Regions from separate parts of the Homo sapiens genome. Here regions 2, 3, 4, 5 and 6 are each linked to region 1. The links are contacts of gene promoters, found by promoter capture Hi-C in blood cells and fetal thymus (Javierre and others, 2016). All regions are on one chromosome and are shown on one strand. Each heading gives the region's core, a stretch centred on a gene start or on the middle of the fragment in contact. The rest is flanking DNA. Distances are from core to core; before and after follow the strand shown.

What was found. Contacts are between HindIII fragments. The CHiCAGO score rates a contact against its expected background, and 5 or more counts as called.
Region 2: a fragment that was not itself captured here is called in contact with the fragment with the promoter of GAD1 in region 1 in 1 of 17 cell types (megakaryocytes); the score reaches 10.3 in megakaryocytes.
Region 3: a contact is called between the fragment with the promoter of METTL8 here and the fragment with the promoter of GAD1 in region 1, in 3 of 17 cell types (naive CD8 T cells, activated CD4 T cells and fetal thymus). The highest score is 8.3, in naive CD8 T cells.
Region 4: a contact is called between a fragment that was not itself captured here and the fragment with the promoter of GAD1 in region 1, in 1 of 17 cell types (megakaryocytes). The highest score is 5.3, in megakaryocytes.
Region 5: a contact is called between a fragment that was not itself captured here and the fragment with the promoter of GAD1 in region 1, in 6 of 17 cell types (megakaryocytes, erythroblasts, fetal thymus and 3 more). The highest score is 10.9, in megakaryocytes.
Region 6: a contact is called between a fragment that was not itself captured here and the fragment with the promoter of GAD1 in region 1, in 2 of 17 cell types (megakaryocytes and endothelial precursors). The highest score is 5.7, in megakaryocytes.

Annotation. Positions count from the first base shown.
Region 1 is chr2:170,815,533-170,818,229 of GRCh38, reverse strand. It overlaps GAD1 (glutamate decarboxylase 1), which reads right to left and starts at 1,343. Exons shown (of 17, transcript NM_000817.3): 1 at 1,182-1,343. GAD1-AS1 (GAD1 antisense RNA 1) reads left to right here. Exons shown (of 4, transcript NR_197761.1): 2 at 315-512; 3 at 1,198-1,376; 4 at 1,745-2,697. RefSeq lists an enhancer at 1,192-1,361 and a silencer at 1,449-1,528. The HindIII fragment of the contact is 11,655 bases long and covers 1-2,697 here.
Region 2 is chr2:169,932,233-169,934,929 of GRCh38, reverse strand. UBR3 (ubiquitin protein ligase E3 component n-recognin 3) reads right to left here. Exons shown (of 39, transcript NM_172070.4): 19 at 1,922-2,018. Among named protein-coding and RNA genes, the nearest start is that of UBR3, 110 kb to the right of the region's middle. The HindIII fragment of the contact is 1,630 bases long and covers 529-2,158 here.
Region 3 is chr2:171,432,543-171,435,239 of GRCh38, reverse strand. It overlaps METTL8 (methyltransferase 8, tRNA N3-cytidine), which reads left to right and starts at 1,250. Exons shown (of 10, transcript NM_001321154.2): 1 at 1,250-1,357. DCAF17 (DDB1 and CUL4 associated factor 17) reads right to left here and starts at 1,014. Exons shown (of 14, transcript NM_025000.4): 1 at 537-1,014; 2 at 54-157. The coding sequence starts at 662. RefSeq lists enhancers at 188-747, 1,567-1,636, 1,309-1,869, 1,847-2,016 and a silencer at 347-1,256. The HindIII fragment of the contact is 4,328 bases long and covers 1-1,260 here.
Region 4 is chr2:170,221,771-170,224,467 of GRCh38, reverse strand. All of the region lies in intron 6 of MYO3B (myosin IIIB), which reads right to left. Among named protein-coding and RNA genes, the nearest start is that of MYO3B, 45 kb to the right of the region's middle. RefSeq lists enhancers at 2,180-2,680, 2,276-2,697. The HindIII fragment of the contact is 3,525 bases long and covers 1-2,697 here.
Region 5 is chr2:170,241,606-170,244,302 of GRCh38, reverse strand. All of the region lies in intron 7 of MYO3B (myosin IIIB), which reads right to left. Among named protein-coding and RNA genes, the nearest start is that of MYO3B, 65 kb to the right of the region's middle. The HindIII fragment of the contact is 1,556 bases long and covers 562-2,117 here.
Region 6 is chr2:170,257,952-170,260,648 of GRCh38, reverse strand. All of the region lies in intron 7 of MYO3B (myosin IIIB), which reads right to left. Among named protein-coding and RNA genes, the nearest start is that of MYO3B, 81 kb to the right of the region's middle. The HindIII fragment of the contact is 874 bases long and covers 909-1,782 here.

The DNA.
Region 1 (2,697 bases), core at 94-2,593:
TGGGGGTCCAAGGCCAGTACAAGACGCAAGGGTGTGGGGGACTAGGCTAGGAGCACAGGGGAGCGCTCAGTGAGCGATTTTCCAGCCGAGCCGCTACAAGCCCCATTGGGCACTCAGCAGCCGGCGTGTGGGCCAGCGGGGGGAGGGCGCACGGGGCGGGCATGTCTGGTTCGGTGTCTGGTTCCCGTTGTTGTGTCTGGCTAATTCCCTGGAAAGAAAGAGGCTAACTGCTCCGGGGACTAGGGACTTTGGTGAGACAAGGTGAGAGGGGGAAAAAGGCCCATATCTTTACGTTCTCCCTCGGACTTGGCCAGAGAAGAACCACAGTCACCTTGCACTCCAGACAGCCAGAAAGCAGCGAGTCGGAATGTTGCTTGCCTCCCTCTTATCCCAGCCGGTTTTTAGCCATCGCTAAGCCTAGGGCGAGGTTTCGGTCCGGTTTCAGCGTTTCTCCTCTACCTAGCCCCCTGAGGACCCCAGATTTCTCGCGGTACAGATCCAGAGAGGGTGGGGTAAGTAAGCATGGGGAACGTCACCGGGGAAACGAACTTGCGCGCAGCGCGCAGGAGGCGGCGGACAAAGATCTTGCGCGGCGCCCCTGCTCGACTCTCGGCGCTGGCGCGATGGCGCCCGAAGGCCCCGGGACAGAGAGATTGCGGGCTAATCTGGGTAGATCGAGGACCCCACAGAGAAGGGCCCACCGGCCATCGCCTCCACACCCTCCCTCCGACCTCACTCCTAGCCCCGCGCGCGCAGTCGCACAGCAACTCGGGCAGCGGGTCGACTACGGCCCCTGGAAAAGTAACAGGTTACCGTTCCTAGTAGCGCCTTCGGCTGCTGCTGCCCAGGCGCCCTTTGGAGGGACAGGCGCTCGCAGCATGGAAGCTCAAGGGAAAATCGCTCTTGCCCCACTTCAACTAGAGCCTCAGCCTCCGTGCTTCCCCGGGGCGTGAATCCGGAGGGCAGGGATAAGAAGAGTGACGAGGGAGGCGGGGGGGGGGGGGTCCCTGCGCAGCGCACCCGTGGAGAGCAGGGACTAGGGCGGGCAGGAAGCACTCATTTCGGGAGGTTGGGTGGCCGGCGCTGGGATGGGGTTGGTTGAGAAGCCGCGGGAGGAGAGGACCTGGCTGAAAAGCCACGGTTGGGCGCTGGGAAGTCCAGGTGGTCGCTAGCTTACCCACCTCGGCTCTGCGACAGCGAGCCGGGCACTCCCGCCTTTCCTCTGCACAGCGCCCAGCGATCCGCTCGGCTCGGCCCTGACAGGCGTAATCTGCCCGGCGTCACCTCCAGCTGCTTCCTCGTTCTCGCTAGTTCCCTCTCGCACGCGAGCGCCAGGAGAAGAGAGAGATTCGGAGAGGCGGCTGCACGGCTCCGGGGTAGGCGGGGGCAGAGTGGGGAGGCGGGGACCGGATCGGCGGGGAAATCACGAGGCCGTTGCTCGCGGGGGCAGCTAGTCGGCGGAGCGGCGGGGCTCCTCTGCAGGTGCCTGACCGCCTCTGGAGCTTTATAGGGCGATTATAAATCCAGCTCACGGTTTTGCGCCCGGAAGGAAAAAAAAAAGGTCTTATGAGTAATCCAGAACGTACTCAACACGCTTTTTTTTTTTCCTTTGGAAATAGGCAGGCTGTCGGGTGAGAGGAGGGAAAAGATAATTCCTACGAAGAATTCTGCCTTTCTGAGCGTTTCTTCTTCCCTCCCCTCCTTTCCCCTCTCCCATTTCCCCTCCCCCTCCCATATATTGTAGGAGACGAGCGGCGGTTTTGCCTCAGTGCTTTTCCCCGGGGTTCCCCCAGATCTGTGACCCTGCGACGCTTCCTTGAGCGAAAGCGCGCTTTGGGTCGTGTCCTCGTTGGCTCTCTACGGAGCTGGGATTGTTGTAACCGCAAAGGAGGCAGAAATGAGGGGAGACCTCTTAGACCATGGAGGAATTACAGTTTCCTCATCCAGCCCTGGGCCCCATCAAAGTACCACACCTGGCCACAGCTACCCAGTGCCACCGGCAGAGAAAAGGACCCCGCGTCCCTTTTGCTATGCGCTCGCTCCTCGCTTTGGCCCCCTTGGTGATGGGAAAAGAAGGCCTCCTGATTAATCACGTTTGAAGGTTGATGACACGCACGAGCGCCGCTGCACGCGCATGGGGCACCCGAGCACAGAGGTGCCCGGAAGGGGCGGACCAGCCCCCCTTGCCCTGGCCCGCTCCCCCTTCGATTTCACGCGCTTTAAGGATTCTCCCTTTGCAATATTTAGGCGTAGTTAAAAGAACCGCTGCGTTGGGAGAAGCCCCTCGCCGTAAAAATGCGTTGAAAGAGAAATTCCCACCAGAGGGCGCCAAGAGCCCAGAGACGGAGAGGCCCTGCGCTCCCGGGTCTCTCCGCCAGCGCCCGAGCGGAGCCCACACCTGGAGCTGCTGGCCAGACGGTTACGCGCCGGCTTGCCTCTTCATGCCTTCCCTCACCGCCCTGTCACTAGTTTAAGTTCTCCCCTTTCTTCTCCCCCAGTTTTTTTCTTTAGGGCAAAAATGTTGATGTCTGTGCGTGTCTGGGTGACACCGTGTAGGCAGTGATTCCTTTACTGGTATTTACCGTGGTCCTCCCCCTCTCCCCAGGTGGTGCAGCACGCAGGGGTTATTTATGCGCACGTCTGGGGCCTCACTGGTTCAGCGGAGGCCCGTCCGTTTTCTTTGAATGCCTTATCGCC
Region 2 (2,697 bases), core at 94-2,593, 880 kb after region 1:
TCCAGTGATGGCCCACAAGACGCTTTTATAAAACCTGGACTAGATCTTAAAGGCCTTTTCCAGCAATAAGAGCCTAAAATTCTAAGCATCTAAGCATCACATAAAGCAAACGGCTTACTTTCACTTAAACTCTCAGCACAAAAACTGAAAGAAATCTACTTTTCATTCGTTTAACAAATATTTACTGATTGCCTTTAAAGTGCCTGGCACAGAGCTAAATTGTGAGAACACAAAAGTTTAAATTTATCTGACCATTTTTCATTTTAGTTTGCAAGATGACCTCCAAAAGGCCTGCTTACAAATAAGAAAAGATCCCTCCCAGTATAATCAGTTAAGCCACTTTTTGTCCCTTAAAATTAAAAAGCAGATGAAAATGATCAATAGCAAACAAATCGGCCAGGCACGGTGGCTCATGTGTGTAATCCCAACACTTTGGGAGGCCGAGGCAGAGCATTCAATAAATATGTACTGTTAAATAAAATTTCCCATTTAAAATTGATTACATTATTTAATGATTCCTTCAAAGCTTTGAAAGTTTCAGCCCAATCTCAGTACAAATTTCTAGTAACTACAAAGTAAAAGAGAATAAAATTTACTTAATTCTTATACATTCAAAACAACTAACCATCATCACTACCCTGAAAAAAAGGCAGAGCCATTTAAGACTGGTGTTTATGAAGTCTCAATAAGGTTTTCCATGCAAATGCTTCTTCCCAATTTTCTTCATTTTTCAATTTTTCAACAGGAATTACTCAAATTTATTTATTCAACAAATATATTATGAATACCTACTAAGTGCCAGAATTGAGATAAGTATTAAAGATGTAGACGAGATACAGAGATAAAAATATATTCCCTCAAGGAGCTAAGAGTTAAGTAAAAGACTACAAGCAAGTACATTTTTACAAAACTATATGAAAAGCAGAAAAAGAGGGAGTTAAGAAACCAGAGAAAGAGAACCTCAGTCTAATTTCTCCAAGGGTTTAGAGAAACGGAGAGAGAGATGCCGATGGCTGAACTGGGTTGTTGTTGTTGTTGTTGTTGTTGTTATTGATTTAAAGATCGTTTTGGTTTTGTTTGGGGGAGGAAGTGAATTAAAATTCCACATTAAAAATTTTCTTCAGATATTTGTCTGTGATAGATATTTCTATTACTGCAAAGTCTTGGCAAAAGAGAAGTTTCACTTTGATAGTTATCTGGATAAGTACTAATACTTTCTCAAAATCAAGGACATTTGCATCATTTAAACTTGCTTTTTAAATGTTTAACTTTAGCTGTAGGAAAGCACAAGTAAAAGATGATATCTTGTGATATTTGGCAATATAATATTAACTATTAAGGTTTAAAAAGAGGTGAAATAATACATTTACAATGGTCTACAATTTACAATAACATACAAAATTGAATTCTGCATTTAAAAGATATCTTTCAAAATTTTTGTCTTCTGCAGTCATCAATACCGTAAACTATTTTGTTAAATATTTACAAGTAAAATTAATTTTGCTTTGGCTATTTTCCCAGTTGTCATGAACACAGAAATATGTTCACTTATTACAGACACCCGTCACCATCTCTGATGTCAGAGAATTCTATTCTCTTAACTTGTGCCTCCCCTACTGGTTCAAAAGTAGAACAACACAAAACCAAGCCTTTAATTCCACTGATGGAACAGCAACTAAATAAGTTTCTGTTTTTTAATTTAGTGATCATGTTCTAAATTTATCAGATTAACATCAAATTTTGGATAAAGATCTTAACATAAATCTCCACCAGATTATTTTTTAAACCTTAAATTATTATTTTCACCTTTAAAGAATGAAAGTATACTTTAATGAGAGCATATCATATCTGTGTTATCACTGAAATTTTTCCATATAAATATAAAATACTGTTATGATGCTAATCAATTTGATGGACTTACAATGCAGTATATCTGTCCATTGCAGACTGCACATCTCTACGGTAAACTGTTCGAAGAATGACCATGACGGGGTCAAACTCTTGATCCCAGACTTCAGCTATTATTCAAAAGAAAGTAGAAACATTGACTTCTCAGAAATAAAATCAATATTTATTGACTTATTACATTTGTTAAGTATATTTTACATTTAAAACACAGAACAATTTAATCTGATTATAGTATTTGCCTTAAGAAGCTTGATGCCATGATTACTTTTCTAAGTCAAAAATCACAATTTCATCATCAGGAATGTTCTCTTGAGTTCAGCAAGCACTAAAGAACAAAAGTTTTGTAATACAACAATGCCTCACCAGAAAAGTTTACTTCATTGTTGTTGTTGTTGTTTGTAAGGTGCCAATTAGAAAGAAACACAGCAGGTTAGGATCTCTGAGAGTATTTAAAGTTAAGCAGGGCATGATGCCTTACACCTCTAGTCCCAACTACTTGGGAGGCTTAGGCAGGAGGCTCACCTGAACCCAGGAGTTTGAGACCAGCCCAGGCAACAAAGACAGACCTCATTTCCCAAAAAAAGTATTAAACAAAAAAAGTACTTAAAAGTAAAAACATGAAAACTAGATTTAAAGATTAATGAGGCTGGACACGGTGGCTCATGCCTGTAATCCCAGCACTTTGGGCAGCTGAGGTGGGCAGATCACTTGAGGTCAGTAGTTTGAGACAAGCCTGGCCATCATGGTGAAACCCCGTCTCTACTAAAAATACAAAAATTAACCAGGCGT
Region 3 (2,697 bases), core at 1-2,500, 620 kb before region 1:
AGTTAAGATCAACAGTGAGGTGAATTACAGCAAAATTATCAATAAAAAGTTACCTGCTGACACAGCGCCGATAATTGTCAAAATATATTCTTCCTCTCTCATAGGCTATAGGTGACCTGGAATGAGTTGTCCAGACATTCTTAAATTTAGTACTTTCCTAAAAGACATAAAGAATTTCCGTTCAGGAAAGAACTCTTAGGCTTTAAGTTAGATTTTAAATTTTCAAAGCAACATAATGTCACCTATATTATTTTAAAACTTTTTGCATCCTTCCTCCACTCTGCCCTCATGTTTTGGCTTAATGAGGTGACCAACTTTTAGAATAATTGTTTCCAGGTAAGACATAAGAAGCGTAAAACTAAAAGCAGCTGGTGGCCCTATTACCACCTATCCCAGATTCCGGGCTTGTATCCTCCTCCCCATCACATGTGACCCTATAAAGGGAGGCCCCAGCGCGTTAAAACCGCATCCCCGCAGGAGGCTCGGCCGCCGCGCGCCCGCGGCCCTCCGTCCCGCCCCGGCCGGCTGGCGGTCACCTGGCACACCAGCGCCCGCAGGATGCCCAGGTTGGTCCTCTGCACCACGCCTGCGTCGCGCGAGAAGCAGCCCAGCGCCCGGCGACTCAGCCGGCTGCACACGTTGGGCTTCCGGGTCGGGCCCATGGAGGCGCGGGCCGGGCCCTGGGTAGGCTGGGCCGCCGAGTGGCGCGCCCCACACTCCCGTGCTGGGCAGCCGCCGCTGCCTTCGAATTTCGAGGCCCAGACTTTCCCGGCGGGGCCCAGGGAAAGCTGACACGGGGAGGCGGGCAGGGAGCACCCGACGGCGGGGCGAGGGAAAGCAGAGCCGCTTGCACCGCCAGAGCGCGGAGAGAAGGGAAGAAGCACTCCCTTTTCGATCTGCCCCAGGCTCTCTGGCCGCTGACAGTGCGACGCTCCGGTACCGCGCGGCCGGCCGGAGCCGCTCTCTCACCGGGAAATGTAGTTCCTAGTGCCTCGTGAGGCAGCCCGGCTTCTCCCAGGAACTACAATTCCCGTCAGGCGGCGGGGAGCGAGGGCTTGCCCGGCCCTGCCTCTGCCTGCCGCGGCCCCGCCTCCTCCGGCCCGCGGAGGCTGCGCTGTCTTGCGGGCGCGCTTCTCTGTGCTGCGAGTGGCTAGCTGGGCAGAGCCCTGGGGGCGCGGTGCTGCCGCCTCCAGGTCTCCGCCCCGTGTGTGCGCCCTGCACTTAGGGATCCCTCCCTCACTGCCCCGGTACTCACAAGCTTCTCGGCCCCGACCTTCGCCCTGGGAGGTTCTGGCCAGGTGCCGGGAGGGGCGCTGTGTCGAGGGCGATCCCCCCAAAGCAGCGTCCCGTGCTAAAGGTACGCCCCGCGGCTTTCCCTTCAGCCGCATGTTGGCTGAGGGGGACGGTAAACTGTGCTTTTGTATTAGGAAGATGCTGGCTTCCCATTCACTCTTAGTTTCACCCTCCAAACTGGGATTGAGTTACTCTTTCCCGGAGGCTTGTCCTTGGGTGGCCTGCGGGGACACTGACTGGTTTTGCGATAATTGCTTCATTTCATTTCCTCTCGCCTCCATTCTTTTTTCTTTATAGGGAATAAAATATGAAATGCTTACATTCTTATTGGACGGCCTAAGATATTCCTCGTCGATGTCTCTAAGTAAAAGATATACTTTGTTAACTAGCCCTGCCTGTATGTTCAAAGTTCCCAGCACACTAAACTTTCAGCAAGCTTGCACCACATGTGTCCCACCGCCATGCTCTAAGTCCCTTAAGGGTGGGGCCGCTGTATCTCCCACGTGGACTTGGGCATGCTACCTCTTGTTCATAGGTGCTCAAAGAAAGCCAGCGATCGCACCTGACTGGCAGAGCAAAAAGTACAGTACAGCAGGTCCTTGAATCGCATTTTTTCGTTCAGTGTCATTTTGTATAACTTGATGAGAAAAAATAATAATTTCCTACCGGGGCTACTGTTTGTGTGGATCTTGCCCCTTCTCCCCACGTCTGCATGGGTTTTCACCAGGTACCCCAGGGTACTGCCTCCCACATCTCAGTGCAGGCTGGATGAATTGGCCTTGTCTGTGTTTCCTGTCTGAGTGTGAGTGTGAGTGCTCCCTGCGATGGAATGTCGTCGTGTCCAAGGGTTGGTTCCCACCTTGCACCCTGAGCTGAGGGGATAGGCTTCAGCCACCCTCGACCCTGAACTGGAATAATTAGGTAAATAACTATCTTACTTGTTTTTATTAATCTTCCTTAAATGTATGTATAGCTCCCATTTATTTCAATGTTTAATATTAGAAGTGTTTTGGTTTGTATTTAGGAGTTTGGTGATGTTTTTGTGACCAGAAATATGTTATAGGAACTTAACTTTTGTTTATATCAATTGGCCTATGGTAAAAATGGTTTTGTTATATGTCATTTTGCTTACAGTCAGTTTCCAAAAATCTGTTGATGACATTAAGTGAGTACTTACAGTACTGGGTGAGTGTGTTGGGTCACAGTTTAAGTGTTTAGTAAACATTGGCCATATCTCTTTTTAACCCTGCTGAATTTCCTTCAGGGCTCGAGCTTTTGCTGATTTTTCATGACTTATTTACAGCATACGGTAGAGTGCTTTGTATATTTTTAGAGAGTGCTACAATAGTTAATTTGGTAATTCATGAATGCAGCTGTCACTGAGAAAACTGGAACCCAGAAAAG
Region 4 (2,697 bases), core at 80-2,579, 590 kb after region 1:
TTAGCTGGTACACATTTTCCACAATGAATATCCCATATGAACACACTGTAAAGTGAGAGTACAAGTATCCTTTCCCTGCCTTGGTTTCTTCATCTGCAAAATGGGACTTGCATTCCCATGCTCTCTGAAAAGCCAAACAGCTTCAATATTTACTAGGTATGTGAATTTGGGCTCGATTCCTCCTATAGCTCTTTAAGCCTCACTTTCCTCAGTGATCAAATGGAGAAAATAACATCCACTATTGAGAGCTGTTGTGAAAATGAAATAAAATATTTTAAAAGCCCCTATCATAGTCCCTGGTATAGAGTCAGTCCTCAGTAAGTGAAAGTTTCCTTCCCACTATGCCTCTGCTTAGCAAGTGCAATGTTCAAAATATCTGACAATCAGGTGGCATGTGGCACTGGCCATCCCTGCTTGTCAAACAGACCTTTCCCCCCATAGTTACTGGATCATCAGGTCAGAAATGTCCCAGGGTAAAAGACAGGGCACCTCTGGTGGCTGAGGAGCACTCAAGGGGCTCTGGATGGCAGCCATTTACCATCCAGAATGAATAGTTTAATATCTTAACAACCAGCCTGGCCACACAGTGTACATCAGCTAAATATAAGCCATTATTTTCAAAGTCTACTGGTGTCCTCAATAAAAACGATAATGACAACATTGGTTCTTTCTCTTGGGTTTCAGTCACTTACAAACACTGAGTTTAATTCTTTGCTATATGTGATGGTAGAAAAAGTTTTTTAGGTATCAACTACCCCTAACCCCCTGCCATTACCATTAATCAACATAAACTAGGCTTGTATCCCTTTTGCTATAGGCCAGGATATTACCTGGCATGTGTTTGATATAAAAATTGGTTGAGCAATATTAACAGCGGACACGGGTTACATTGGAAATCCCTTAGTTGAATAAGTCACAAAATATGGATTCCAGTCACCATTACCCACCTACCCACTCTGTGTCTATGGACACTTGGCCTGACAAAGCCTTAGATTCTTTATCTACAACATCAATGTAATCATGCCCGAGTGGCACTCTCACAGGTAGATGACAGTGTTTTTAAAATACTATTTGTAAAAATTCTACGCAAATGTGGGATACTATTATTCATATTACTTACTATAAGAAATTGGCTGTCAGGAGATAGTGGAGGAGAAAAGAGATAATAAACATGGCTAATAGGAAGACTGTGTTGTTTTTGTGAGTTTTTTTAAGTGCATAAAATGCAGGCTAAAGTTTTAGGTCAGGAGACCAGAGAGGCTTAATCAGGTAAAGAGAAGGTTCAAGGAAGTGACTATGAGCTGGCCAAACATCTCAGGAGATAATAATAATTTTAAAAATGCTTTGCCTGAGAGTAGGTAGGAGAGAACAAAAGTCTGGGGGTGTTGGGCGCCCACACAGGAAGGCAATTTGGTATGCTTTGTACCTTCAGAAAGAACCACGTTTGCCTCAAACACCAAAGGCTGAGAGAGTGCAGACAGTCTATGTGTGTGGTGTGTGTGGAGTAGGGGAGGTGGTTGTGTATGTGTGTGTAAACAGGCAAAGCTGAGCCTCTCACTATGCTAGCATCTATAACCTGCAGCCCTGCAGGTTCTAAATAGTTGACTAATTACCTTGGAAACTTGAATGATTTAATACAAAGGAAGGGTGCTAAATATTAGTATTTGGGAGCTTGTTATTGGTTGAACTGTGTCCTCCAAAAAAAAGATACATTTAAGTCCTAGCCCCCAGAATCTCAGAACGTGAACTTATTTGGAAATAGGGTCACTGTATATACAATTAGTTGAATTCAGATGAGGTCATACTGGAGTAGGGTGGGCCTCTAATCCGACGGGACTGGTGTTCTTATAAGAAGTCATGGACATGTGAAGACACACAGAGAAAATACCACGGCACTACAAAGGCAGAGACTGGAGTTACGCAGCTTGCAAGCCAGGGAACACCAAAGATCACCAGCAAACCTCCAGTAGCTGGGAAGAGACAAAGCAAGATCCCTCCCCTAGAGGCTTCAGAGGAAGCCTGCTGGCATCTTGGTTTCAGATTTCTAGCCTCCAGAAGTGTGAGATAATATATTTCTGTTGTTTAAAGCTACCCAGTTTGTACTACTTGATTACAGCAGACCGGGAAAATAAATATAGGGTGGAAAAGTCTTCAACCCCAAGAGAGGAGGAAAACCCACTTTAACTTCTCGCTGTTTGGTTGCACCATGAGTGCCTTCACCTGTGGCTATTGGCATGTTGGAGCCACTACTGCCCCTCAGATATTCACAGGCACTGTTGTCATAACTGCCCTAAAGTCAGTCCCAGAACAATGAAGCCATGCAGCTTGCAGCAGTCATAGCCAGGGAGATTTAAAAATCGGAAGTTTTCATGACTCTATTATTATGAGCTGCTAAATCAACAAACTCCGGAACAAACTACCTCTGATCTTATTATACGAGAAACTTAATTATCTATTGTTCAAGTTATTTTGCTCATGATAATCTCCTAAATAGTCTCCATGTGAAATTTTTCTTTCTCTCTTAAGATAATCTTTCCTGTAGTCACAGTATGCTACTCACATACAGTGTGTTTAGTTTATAAAAAATTGTTCTGATCTTAAGCCAGGCATGTTGGGGCATGCCCTGTAGTCCCAGCTACTCGGGAGGCTGAAGCAGAAGGAATGCTTGAGCTTAGGAGTTGGAGACCAGCCTGGGCA
Region 5 (2,697 bases), core at 90-2,589, 570 kb after region 1:
TTGAATCAATGACCCTAAGTTTAGAACTCTTGCTATTGTCCCTTTATCTGCAGACAAAAAAATTTCTAGAACCCTGGAGAAGGTTGAACCTACTAAGGGGGCTAAAAGGACCCTATAGAAGGAGGCAGCCAAGACCAGTCATACGACTCATCAACCGAGCACAAAACCACCACAAAAACTGATAGAACTGATAGCAAAGGAAAAGTACCATGGCCCTAGTTCTCTTCAGAGGATGACAGCATCACCACTCGTTGTAGACATCATGGCAGTGGAGACTAAGGCCAGCCCTGCTTCCTCATGTGCAGTTCCTGTCACAGCATTCATGTATGTGTGTGAGGGTGAGGTGTATGTGACCGTATCTCTTAAGAGTGTGTCTATTTACAAAGGAGTTGTGACAATGGATACTAATGGCAGAGTCCTTCACATAGATGCAATGTAAGTAGTAGGGACTTCAGAAATCAGCCTTCATTCTCTCTTAATTCCTCATACAATCATCAATCAATCAATTAGCTGAACTTTCAAATGACTGATCTCATGGGTGGCTCTTTTTGAATAGAAGCTTTCAATTCTTCAGCTACAAGGGAAAGAAAATTCCTTACAGTATAAATATGCCCTTGAGATATTTTCCTTGGTAGCATCCAGCATGAATTGAATGCTTACTATGAAATATTCTGACCAATTTACATTCTTTAACTCCCACAATAGCTCTATGAGGTCGACATTACTCAAATCCTCATTTTATAAGGGAGGACACTGACACACACAGACATGCAGTAACTTGGTCAAGTTCACACTGGTGAACTTGAAAGTGATGGAGCTGCTAGTTGAACCCGTGTAGATTGACTGTAGAACACTGTAATAACTTGAGAGCAAAACTGGTCCAATTTTCTGTTCCTTCCTCTATCTGTGCTTAGAACCCTGTCACCAATATGAGAACTACCTCAGGCTAGCCTGCTGGAAGATAAGAAACAACATGGACCAGAGCCAAGTCATCCTAGCCAAGGCTATCCTAGACCAACCAACACAGCCACATTCTCAGCTGATCACAGATGCATGAGCAAGCCCAGCCAAGATCTGCAGAACCACCCAGAGAAACCCATAGACTCATGAAAAATCATAAATGTTTGTTGTTTAAGCAACTAAGTTTGGGGATGGTTTGTTACATACTAGTAGTTAACTGATACAAACAACCATGCTGGACCACTATACTATATTTTCCTTCAAATGATACTGGCTTCACTTGACTCTAGGATCCTCCAGGAATGGATAGCTCCAGCTGTGAAGAACCTTCCTTTAGACTATCACCTCATTGCTCCTCATCCCTGTCTTACCCCTGCCCCTACCATTATGCCAACCCATAAAGGCAGTTATAATTATTCCTCACCTTTATTCCTTAGTTTTTTCTGGAGTAGAGAGGAAACCAGGGTGCCTCAACTCTAGCACAATTTTGAGCTCTGTTTCCTTGCCTACTTCTTTGCCCATCTCTCCATCATTTAGGAGGTGGGTTGGAATTAGCCACAGTCAGTTGTGCCAAAATAATATACCAGGGTAATGAGAAGAAGGCACAGATAGCGCTGGGAATCAACCCCTCGCACCTTTGGCCTGTCTCTCAGGGTGAGCTTCTTACTCAGTAGTGGTGGGGACCCAAAGTCCCTGAAGGCATGCTCCTGCTTTGTCACCTGATCCCCAAATGAAACCTTGCAAAGCTAAATTCTCCCTGCCTGCCAGGACTCAGGCAGGGGGCAGCAAGCAGTACCTACATAGGACTGAATGGCCCCAGCTGCTCAACTCGAATTTAAAAATAATTTGGCAATGTGTTCCACAGAGTGAAAGCCTTCTGGGGCATTTCTGCCAGATGCCTCCAGCTACTGGGTTCCCACGGAAAGGGAGTGTCAAGTCCTGGGCCCAGAAGATATTCTGGGGATCTGGAACAGGGTACATACTGAAGGCAATCCATTAAAAATGGGATTAGAAATCTCTCAAAGAAAGAAAAAGATACATAAAACATAACTGTTTTTCTATTGGAATATTTTAAAACTTTTTTTTTGCTATTAGGCACTCAATAAATGCTAAATGATGCTAATTCTTCTAGCACTTCTTGCTTTATGAGTGAAGCTTGGATCGTGGGGATTCATTGCTCAAAAGGCCAATAGCTAAGTGACCTGGGTTGGTGAAGAGAAACCAATACTCCCCAGGGCAAATCCAGCCTCACTGTGCCATTAAACACTCAGCACCCCTCACTCATTACACTTCAACAATAGTTTAGTTTTAATTTCTTTCCTTTATATTTCACAGCCCTAAAGGAAAATGTCCTGTGACAATTCTGTAATAGTGAGACAATTACTGGTGACTCAGGGCTCCCTGCTGCCTCTGCATCTCACAGCGGAGGAGCAGGCAGAGACTACTGCTTCCCATATAGGAACAATTTGGTTTGTGAATTAGGAAAGTCAGCATCAAAAGGAATCTTAAAAAAAAAAATGCCTATGTAAGATAAAAATTTAGCCCAAGGATCCTATTTCAGGATGAGAGTCGATTGTAGGCACTGAGTCCCTGAGGAAGCTCTTCAAATAGACACACAAATATTTCAAGCAGTGACTTGCCCATCTGCCCCACTACCCACAGCATCCAGGCAGTCCACAAGGATCCAGACCCTGGGTTCCCAAAAATCTGATTTCTCCTTTTTGTTATCCAAACTCT
Region 6 (2,697 bases), core at 96-2,595, 560 kb after region 1:
ATGCTTCAGTTTGGGATACAATTGGTCCCATCACCCAAGTAGTGAGCACAGTACCCAATAGGTGGTTTTTCAACCCTTCTTCTCCTCTCCCAACTCCAGTAGTCCCCAGTGTCTACTGTTCCAATCTTTATGTCTGTGTGTACCCAATGTTTAGCTGCCACTTTTAAGTGATAACATATGGCATTTAGTTTTCTGTTTCTGCACTAATTCACTTAGGATAATAGCATCCAGCTGCATCCATGCTGCTGCAAAGAACATGATTTTATCCCTTTTTATGGCTGCATAGTATTCCATGATATATATGTACCACATTTTCTTTATCCAATCCACCACTGATGGGCACCTATGTCTTTGCTATTGTGAATGGTGCTGCAATTAACATACATGCACATGTGTCTTTTTGGTAGAATGATTTCTTTTCCTTTGGGCATATACCCAGTAATGGGATTGCTGGGTTGAATGGTCGTTCTTCTTTTAGTTCTTTGAGAAATCTCAAAACTGCTTTCCACTGCTTAACTAATTTACATTCCCATCAATAGTGTATGAGCATTCCCTTTTCTCTGCAGCCTCACCAACATGTTATTTTTTGACTTTTTAATAATAGCCATTCTGACTAATGTGAGATATTTCATTGTTGTTTTGATTTGCATTTGTCTGATGATTAGTGGTGTTGAGCTTTTTTTTTTTCATGTTTGTTGGCTGCTTGTGTGTCTTCTTCTGAGATGTATCTATCTCTTCATGTCCTTTGCCCACTTTTTAAGGGGGTTATATGTTTTTTGCTTGTTAGATTATTTAAGTTCCTTACACATTCTGGATATTTGACCTTTGTGGATGCATAGTTGGTGAATATATTCTCCCATTCTGTAAGTTATCCATTTATTGATATTTTATTTTGCTATGCAAAAGCTTAATGTGTCCCACTTATCAATTTGTGTTTAATTATGTCCCACTTGTCTATTTGTGTTTTCATTGCAACTACTTTTGAGGACTTTGTCATAAATTCTTTGCCAAGGCCAATGTCCATAATAGCATTTCCTAGGCTTCCAGTTGGATTTTTATAGTTTTAGGTCCTAAGTTTTTAATCCATCCTGAGTTAATTTTTGTATATGGTAATAGGTAGGAGTCTAGCTTCATTCTTCTGCAAAAGGATAGCCAGTTATCCAAGCACGATTTATTGAAAAGGGAGTCCTTTCCCCATTGCTTATTTGTGTTGACTTTGTTGAAGATTAGATGGTTATAGTGGCTTTATTTCTGGGTAATCTATTCTGTTCCATTGGTGTATGTGACTGTTTTTATACCAGTACCATGCTTTTTGGCTACTGTAACCTTGCAGTATAGTTTGAAGTTGAGTGACGTGATGCCTCTGGCTGTGTTCTTTTTGCTTAGGATTGCTTCAGCTATTTGGGCTCTTTTTTTGTTCCATATAAATGTTAGAATAGTTTTTTATAATTCTATGAAAAATGACATCGGTAGTTTCATAGGAATAGTGTTGAATCTATAGATTGCTAAGGGACAGAATGGCCTTTTTAACAACACTGATTTTTCCAGTCCATGAGCATGGAATGTTTTTCCATTTGTTTGTGTCATCTATGATTTCTTTCAGCAGTGTTTCATTTTTAGTTATCCTCGTAGAGATCTTTCACCTCCTTGGTTAGATGAATTCCTAGGTTGTGTGTGTGTATTGTAAATTGGACAGTGTTCTTGATTTGGCTCTCAGTTTGAACAAGACTGGTGTATAGAAATACTACTGATTTTTGTACGATAATTTTGTATCCTGAAGCTTTACTGAAGTCGTTTATCAGTTCTAGGAGCCTTTTAGGTGGAGTCTTTAAGGTTTAAGGTTTTCTAGGTATCAAATCATATCATCAGTGAAGAGAGATAATTTGTCTTTTGCTTTTCCTATATGGATGCCTTTTATTTCGTTTTCTCCTCTGACTGCTCTGGCTAGAACTTCCAATACTATGACATATAGAAGTAGTGAACGTGGGCATCATTGTCTTGTTCCAGTTCTTAAGGGAAATGCTTCCAGCTTTTTCCCATTCAGTATCATGTTGGCTGTGGGTTTGTCATAGATGACTCATTATTTTCAGGATGTTCCTTTGATGCCTAGTTTTTTGAGGATTTTTGTCTTAACTGAATATCGGATTTTATCAGAAGCTTTTTCTATATCTATTGAGATGATCATATGATTTTTTCTTTTAATTCTGTTTATGTGGTGAATCACATTTATTGATTTGCATATGTTGAACCCACCTTGCATCTCAGGAAGAAAGCCTACCTGATTGTAATGAATTAACTTTCTGATGTTCTGCCAGATTCAGTTTGCCAGTATTTTGTTGAGGATTTTTGTATCTATATTCATCAGGGATACTGGCCTGACGTTTTCTTTTTTCACTGTCTCATTGGTATCAGAATGATGCTGGCTTCATAGAATAAGTTAGGGAGGAGTCTGTCCTCCTTGACTTTTGTGGATAATTTCAGTAGGATTGGTACCAGCTCTTTGTCTGTCTGGTAGAATTCAGCTGGGAATCCATCTAGTCCATAGCTTTTTAGGTTGCCAGGTTTTTAAAATTTTTAAATAGTGATTCAATTTCAGAACTTGTTATTGATCTGTTTAGGGTTTCAATTAATTTCTGATTCAATTTTGGGAGGTTGTACATTTCCAGGAATTTATCCATTTCCTCTAGATTTTCTAGT